Regions from separate parts of the Homo sapiens genome. Here region 1 is linked to region 2. The links are contacts of gene promoters, found by promoter capture Hi-C in human tissues and cell types (Jung and others, 2019). All regions are on one chromosome and are shown on one strand. Each heading gives the region's core, a stretch centred on a gene start or on the middle of the fragment in contact. The rest is flanking DNA. Distances are from core to core; before and after follow the strand shown. Region 1 has its middle 6.8 kb from the start of TAAR9. Region 2 holds the start of TAAR5 (trace amine associated receptor 5).

The links. Contacts are between HindIII fragments. The study calls those that stand out against the background at their distance.
Region 1: a contact is called between a fragment that was not itself captured here and the fragment with the promoter of TAAR5 in region 2, in 1 of the 25 tissues and cell types used here (psoas muscle).

The regions. Positions count from the first base shown.
Region 1 is chr6:132,543,239-132,546,825 of GRCh38, forward strand. No RefSeq gene overlaps it. Among named protein-coding and RNA genes, the nearest start is that of TAAR9, 6.8 kb to the left of the region's middle. The HindIII fragment of the contact is 4,293 bases long and covers 155-3,587 here.
Region 2 is chr6:132,588,420-132,592,131 of GRCh38, forward strand. TAAR5 (trace amine associated receptor 5) reads right to left here and starts at 1,322. Exons shown (of 1, transcript NM_003967.3): 1 at 173-1,322. The coding sequence starts at 1,267. The coding sequence ends at 254. The HindIII fragment of the contact is 8,704 bases long and covers 1-3,712 here.

The DNA of each region.
Region 1 (3,587 bases), core at 1,051-3,550, 44 kb before region 2:
GTTTAAAGATTACATACACCTACACAAATAAAATGATATTTTTATAAACAGCTTGCATTGCCTTTGTATTTTGTGTGTTTTTAGAATTAGCATTTTGATTTTCTTTTCTTATTATTAATATTAATTATAGGAACTATTAATGAAGAAAAAAGCTCCAGAGAGATTATATGTTGTAAATGCTGGAGCTGGGATATTTAGATCCATGTCTGTCTATCATCAAAGCCAATGCTTTGCAAATACTATCATTGTGAATCAGTTGGAAAAAGCAACGACATTTCTTGGAAATGAAAAATTATAGACTATCTTCCCAGGTGTAACATAAGAGCTGACATTTATATTTTATTCTTATTTTATTCTGTTCAAACACACACACACACACACACACACACACACACACGTCTAATGCCAAAGGGCAAGTTTCATTATTTCCTAAGGGCAATACTAAGCTAAGCATCACAGATCACTTCAAAGATAAGAATATATAAGGTCCCTGTACTAATTCATCCTTGTTAAATTTATAAAACAGGCAAAATTCCCTGGGGAGTCCCCCAGCTACCCTGTCTCTACTTTCTCCCCTCACCTAGGAACACTCTGACATTTCAGGCTGTGTTCAAGCTGTTTGTGCTGCGTCCTTTCCCATCAGTAATATGAGCTGTTAAACAATAACTACTTGCCAAATGAATTAAATTCTTCATATGGGAGCATTAACAATAAAACATACCATTCTCAGAGGGGTTCCCTTTTAGGTTGGTAGTGGATAAAGGTACAAGAGAAATTTTAAGAGATGTTCAAAGAGTAACAGTTTGTAAAAAGAAGAAAGTAACAAGGGTGAAGTTTTAGGAAGGGAGGAGTTATTTAAATGGGACAACTTTCTGGTGTTGCTCAATTAAGACCAATTAGGCAAAACCAAAGCTTCATCTATTAGGGAGTTTGTTTTCCTCTCTTCTGTCATCTAAGGCTAAGGGAGTTTATAATGCATCTGCTGTCCGTTTTTGGCTTCCACCCACATACTGAGACAGCCCATCTGTAAACCAAGCTTGTGTTTTTCTCCTCTTTAGTTTCCTGAAGTGTGAAATGGAGGGGGTACTGCTGCAAAGGCGGTAGGTAATGGGCTCTGGGCTCATGTTGCTCACATGTTCCCACTGGCCTTGCTTGTGTTTGGTCCTACATGCATCATTTCCATTGGAGGATCCAACAAGACCTAACTCATAATAGGCAGTTACAGACACATGATAGCTTGATGTCACATGGTCAAGCGTTCCATCACTTCCTGGGCTCAGTAGCTCACCAAGAGCTATCTTTCAAAAGGTATTTATCTTCCTTACTCTAGACTCCCAGAGGACTGCACTGTGTTTCTCTCAGTGGAGCCTCCCATAAAAAATACACTGCCTCTTTTTCCACTACTAATACCTTCATCACTGCAAGGTCGTCAAATTGTGACAGTTATTCTATAGCTTAGACCCACTGTAGAGCCATCTTCTGCTCCAGGCCCCACCGAGAGCTGGAAGAATTTAGTATTATCCAGTGTATGCACCAGAGTGGTATTCCTAAGCATGGAATATATTTTCTCAAGATCCTAAAGCGGTAAACCAAGCATTGTGCTTCCTTTTTTAGCTGTAGAGAGTACTGGATGTAATCATTTGTCTTTAACTTTGGATGGGACATCTCTGACCACTATAATGAAGTAGAGAGCCCCTCAATCTGCATAGAGGCTATCTCCAAACTTCTAAGAAGCATGTATCTTTCCAAGGCCTCTAGTGTGCTATTTACAAATTGCTTATCCTGCATGATCAGCATAATGTTATCAATGTAATAAATCAATGGTATCTAAAATAGGATGCCCAAGTGGTCCAGACTCCTTTGTTGAAGAGGGATCTAAACAGTGTCACTCTCTGGGTCTGCCATAAAGACACACTACATTATGAGAACATCATTTGAGATATCATATCAAGATATCATATCAAGATAGACAACAGGTTTTGGTTAATAACACATAAAACTTACTGAAAATGTTGGTAAATATCTGATGGACATCACGCTATTACCTAAATCAGGGTTTCTGAACCAATGCCATAATGATGTGTTGCAAATGGATTACACGAAGTCCTGGAGAAACTAATCCACTCAGTACTCAGGACAATCAGACTGGGCCCAGGATGGTCAGTGCTCTTGGGCTAGTACACTCTGGCTACTGAGTCTCTTCTGATGGTTGCCCACATTGAGCAAGGTCTGACAGTGTGATGCTTTTTCCGTAGGTGCCAGGTGGAATGAGCAACCTCCATCATTTGCTGTTTTTCCACATCATGCTAAGAAAGGGATATTTCTTAACACTTTTTGTAGTTGAGTTAATTTTTGAATTATTCATTTCTCCCTGTATTCACACCCTTTGTTATATAATTTTGCAGTTCTGCCCATGTGAGGCAGAGTGAGAGCAGAAGAGACAGTGTGCAAATTCTGAGCCTAGGCCTTATGATATCCTATTTCCGTTTGCTCTCTTGAACCTCTGCCATTGCTATGAGAACATGCTCAGGTAGCCAGCAGATCCAAGGAGGATGAGAGATACGTAAGCCTTGCTACAGCATTAACCAGAGCCAAGTCCTCCCTGTCCCCAGTTGCCATAGCCTGAAGTAGAGTCAACTCAGCTCAAACGCAGATATGTGAGAAATAAATGTTTAATGTCATATATGAGTGAGAATTTGTGGTTGTTTGTTACATGCAATAGTCAACCGATAAACGCTATACTATATTTTTACTATTTCAAAGCAAAAAATTGCACCAGACAAAGTTAAAGACAAGGAAGACTTTACTGCAGACAATTGCTACAGGGGAGAAAGGCCAGAACTCAACTCATCTGAGCTCAACTTCACTGAAACAAAGGGCTGAAAAGTTTTTGAAAGTTAAGGGAGAGGAGGTTGTAGACCACTTGTGTTTGCTAATGGGCCCCACCAAAAGGGAAAGTGAACTTTCTTATATCTTCATGACAGGAGGTAGTTTTCCAGCTTGGAGCAAGGCATCCCTTGAAGTTAAGACTTCTACCTTCCTACAGGAACTGGGAAATAAGGATGTTATCATCTTTCTTGATAATTACATTTCAAAGGGATGGCTCCCAGGACCTTGAGAAAGACATTCCTGGGTTATAAAACTAGCAAGAAGCTTTTAAAAAGACTTACCTCTCAAAAGCACAGAGAAAGAATTCGTAAATACTAATTTTCTAAAGTAAATGCTCTAAGAAAGGGTGGTCAGGAGCCTCAAGTCAGGAAGAAGCCTGTCTTAAGTTTAGTCAAGCTGAGGGGAACATTAAGGTTGACTGTCTTAGTCAGTTACATTAACTATGTTATATAAAGCAAATGTATGACTTTCATAAGATGTCTTATGTTGATACCCCAAATTCCCTCTGGTTTACCCTATTGTAAGGTACATATAATAAAGTGAAAAAGATTGGGGAGCATAGACTCAAACCTACCTGTGAATAAATTATTTTCCAGAAGGAGGCAGGCTCTGGGTATGGAGACGTCCACACATTCCATGGTGACTTGAAGGTTTACCTGTCCATCATCAGCAAGGCTGGGAGTAAAGTTTATGTTGCT
Region 2 (3,712 bases), core at 72-2,571:
CTAGAACTTAAAGTATAATAAATATATATATACGTATATATATATATACGTGTATATACATACATATATATAAAACATTGAATGTGGGGAGTGCTTTATCCCTTTCCAAGTTAAGGAGCTTGTCTTTCTCTTCTACTTAACCCATGCTGTCCTGGAAGCATGCCCACAAACTCAACACCACACAGCCCACGGTCACAGTGCCACTTATCTTTCCTGTGAGGTCCTACTCCTTGCCTGCATTTAGTAGAAGGAATCATTCTTGGTACAAATCAACAGTGCGTGTCTGCGGTGAGAAGACCTTCTGGCTCAGTGTGAGTTTCAGTGCCTTCCGAAACCACTGGTAGGAAAAGACATAGATGATGGGGTTGCAGGCTGAGTTGAAGTAAGCAAACCAGATAAAGATGTCAAAGACCAGTGGGGGTGTGATAAAGTGAAGGAGGCTGTCGACCATCGTGTCTATGGTGAAGGGCAGCCAGCACAAGAGGTATATGCCCACAGCAATGCCCAGGGTCTTGGCAGCTTTTCTCTCATGCTTGGCAGCCCCAGCCAGGCTTTTGCTCAATGTGGTAATCTGCTGAGCCTGTCTGGTAGCAACCACAAAGATCTTCACATACAAGCTGATCATAATGAGGCAGGGGACAAAGAACAAAGGGAAGTTTAACCAGCCCCAAAATTTATTGAGCAGCAGCTGGCAACTGCCCACACAAGGCATCTCTTCCAGCCACTGGCTGAGCCTTGTCTCTACCACATCTGTGTAGAGGAATAACGAAGTGTATGCTGCGGGCACCCCCCATCCTGCCAGGATGTACCTGAGAGCCACCCTCACTGTGAACTTGGAGGGATAGAGCAGGGGGTCACAGATGGCACAGTGGCGGTCAATGGAAATGAAACAGAGATGGAAGATGGAGGTGAGGCAGAAGAGGGTGTCCAGGTAGGTGTGCAGGCGGCAGAGGAAGTCCCCGAAGAACCAGCAGCTCTCCACTGAGCGAATGGTGCTGAGGGGCAGCACCAGCAGACCCAGAAACATGTCAGCCAGGGCCAGGGAGAGCAGCAGGAAGTTGGTGGGCGTGTGAAGCGCTTTGAAGTAGGACACAGCAAATGCCACAAATACATTCCCTAGCACGATAATCAGCATGCCTGCTGCACAGGCCAGGTAGATGACCAACTGGATGCCCAGAGTATGTACTGTCCTGGGGCAAGACCCATTCACCTGGTAGCAGAATGCCGCAGGGTGCTCTTCAGCACCTTGGATGAAGACAGCTCTCATTTATGATTTCTACTCTTCCTCTGTCTGAGAACTGGCCACCTTCTCCACTGGAGGGCAAAAAAAAAAAAAAAAAAAAAAAAAAAAAAAAAATATGTCTGCTAAATAATCACAGAGTGAAACGAAGAGGAAGAAACTAAAGTACAGTTTGGAACATAGTACAGTGCCCCTGGGTACTGAATCAAATGTGCCCTGAAAATCAAATGCAGCATAGTATTCAAGGTTTCATGAGAGTTACTTCTGCTAGCTCTAGTTTATATGACTAGGCACTTTAAAACTAGTGTAGGTAGTATTCTTAAAGAAAGAAAAGAAGGATGTAAGCTGAATGTTTCCTCAAAGAAAGCTTGATTATATCCATAGGTAGTATTAAATAATAGAGAATGTCTCTTACGTTTTGATAAGGTATTTTTTGTCAAATGTAAAGTGAAATTTAAAGCAAAGATCTGAACCAAGTGACCAATTAATTCTTGTTAATAAATTATTCCTTGGAAAAAGTGTAACTTCTAGCTTCTCTCTTTAAGAATTACATACATTGACAATAAAGTTAGCAGATTAAGATTTTTAGCTACATGCCAACTCTTCCCAAGAGAAGAATTCAGCATGCAAATATTAATAATTAAAAGAGTAGAAAATTGCTCTATTTTAGCTTTAAATGCTGCACATTTTATGATGATAACACAAAGTGTTTACACATCTTGGTATAACTATTTGATAGGCAAAATGATTTTATCTATTTAACATCTTAATGTAAGTCTGTGAATTATTAACCAAGTCCTAATATATTGAATTCAGAGTTTCTAAGTTACTTACACAGGTAGGAATCAGAATCCCTTCCTGGGAAAAAATGTTTCTTGGAGCAGGTGGACACAGGGAATGTCAGAGTACTCTTCTGTTGGCCACAATGACAGGTGTGCAATTAGTTAACGATTTTATACTCTCAATAGAAACTACTCCTCCATGTGCTATGATACAAATAAGCTGTGAAGAGGCACCATGGGACCTAGTTTGCACTATTTGCAAGTCTCAGTTGTTTAAGGTTCCTCCTCAATACAGAATCACTTACCCTGACAATTAATTAGAGATAAAATTTAAAGACGGTGGATGTATATATTCTTTTTTAATTTTTCAGTTCTGGGATGTTTTGAAGGTATTCTTGCCTGCTAATGGCTGCTATATATTTTCTAATTTCATTTTTAGTGAGTTTCTTATTTTTCTTCTGCTTTAGTATTATTTGTGTATATTTCTCTCAACATGAGAAATAGTTGAGAATAATTGATCATGGGTTTTTTGGTTCATGAAGGGGTGGTTTGTGACTTCCACACAGGATTCATCATTATGTGTTTTTTGAGCACTATATTTTGTGATGGTGAAAGAAAGCATGGTAGATGAAGCAGTTCACCTGGAGGAAGAATAGTTAAATTCCTGTTTCATCCTTTCTTATGCCATACCTAACCTCTCTCTCTGCTTCCCCATTGGTAAGAGTAGGTACAATTATACCTGTGTAACTTGATTTCACAGGGATATTATCAAGGTAAATAACATGTTGAATCGTATTCTGCTCTCTGCCTCTTGATATCTTAGAAGCTGGTATGCCTCTTTATGGTTACAGAGAAACCATTTCACAGTATCAGTCAAACTAAAGTTGTAAAAATGACAGAATTCTAGAGGTGACACCAAATTACATCTGCCAGAGGGGCCTGGAAGAGGAGGTGGGGCAGGTCAAAAAGAAGGAAGGAGGTTGGTATGCACCTCTCCTTTCTCTACAAATCCATGGCTAAACCCAGTGTTTCCCAAGGCAAAGCTCCCTATAGCCTGGCTACCGCTGGAATCTTGCCTTATGCCAGCTTCATATGTGTGGAAATACATATCTGGCTCCAGAACTTAATCAGACACAAGGAAGGATATTGCATTACTAGGTACCTTGAAACCCCTTTAGCTTAAAAGTCATAATCCACATATAATTGGCCAAGGAGTCCTATGGCTTTATATTTAATTTGACCAAGAACTTGTGAAAAATACAAACAAATGTCCTGTAGCTGGAATAAGGCTGAAGAAGAAACAGGGAAAGGTTTTCTGTTCTGGGATAGATTACATCAGACCTACTAAAATGTAATATGTAACACAATTGTATGATCTCTATGTCTCAGATTACTTAACACCACTGTGTCCAGTTTTCTCATCTATTAATTGAATATAATACATGATCTGTGTCACAATCTTGTGAATATTAATGAGTTAAAATTCATAAAGTGCAGTCTCTGGCATGTAGAAAGTTGAGTTGGGCAGACAAGAGTTCGAGTGGATATCTAGTGCAGATAACTGTTAACCTTCCCAAGTTAGGGCTCTTATCCCTTCTTCCACTGACTTTTAGAAATACATTCCATTACATAACAATCACAGGCAAAAGTAATTGGATTCTGGATCTACTAAGGTTTCCTGCTTACCTTA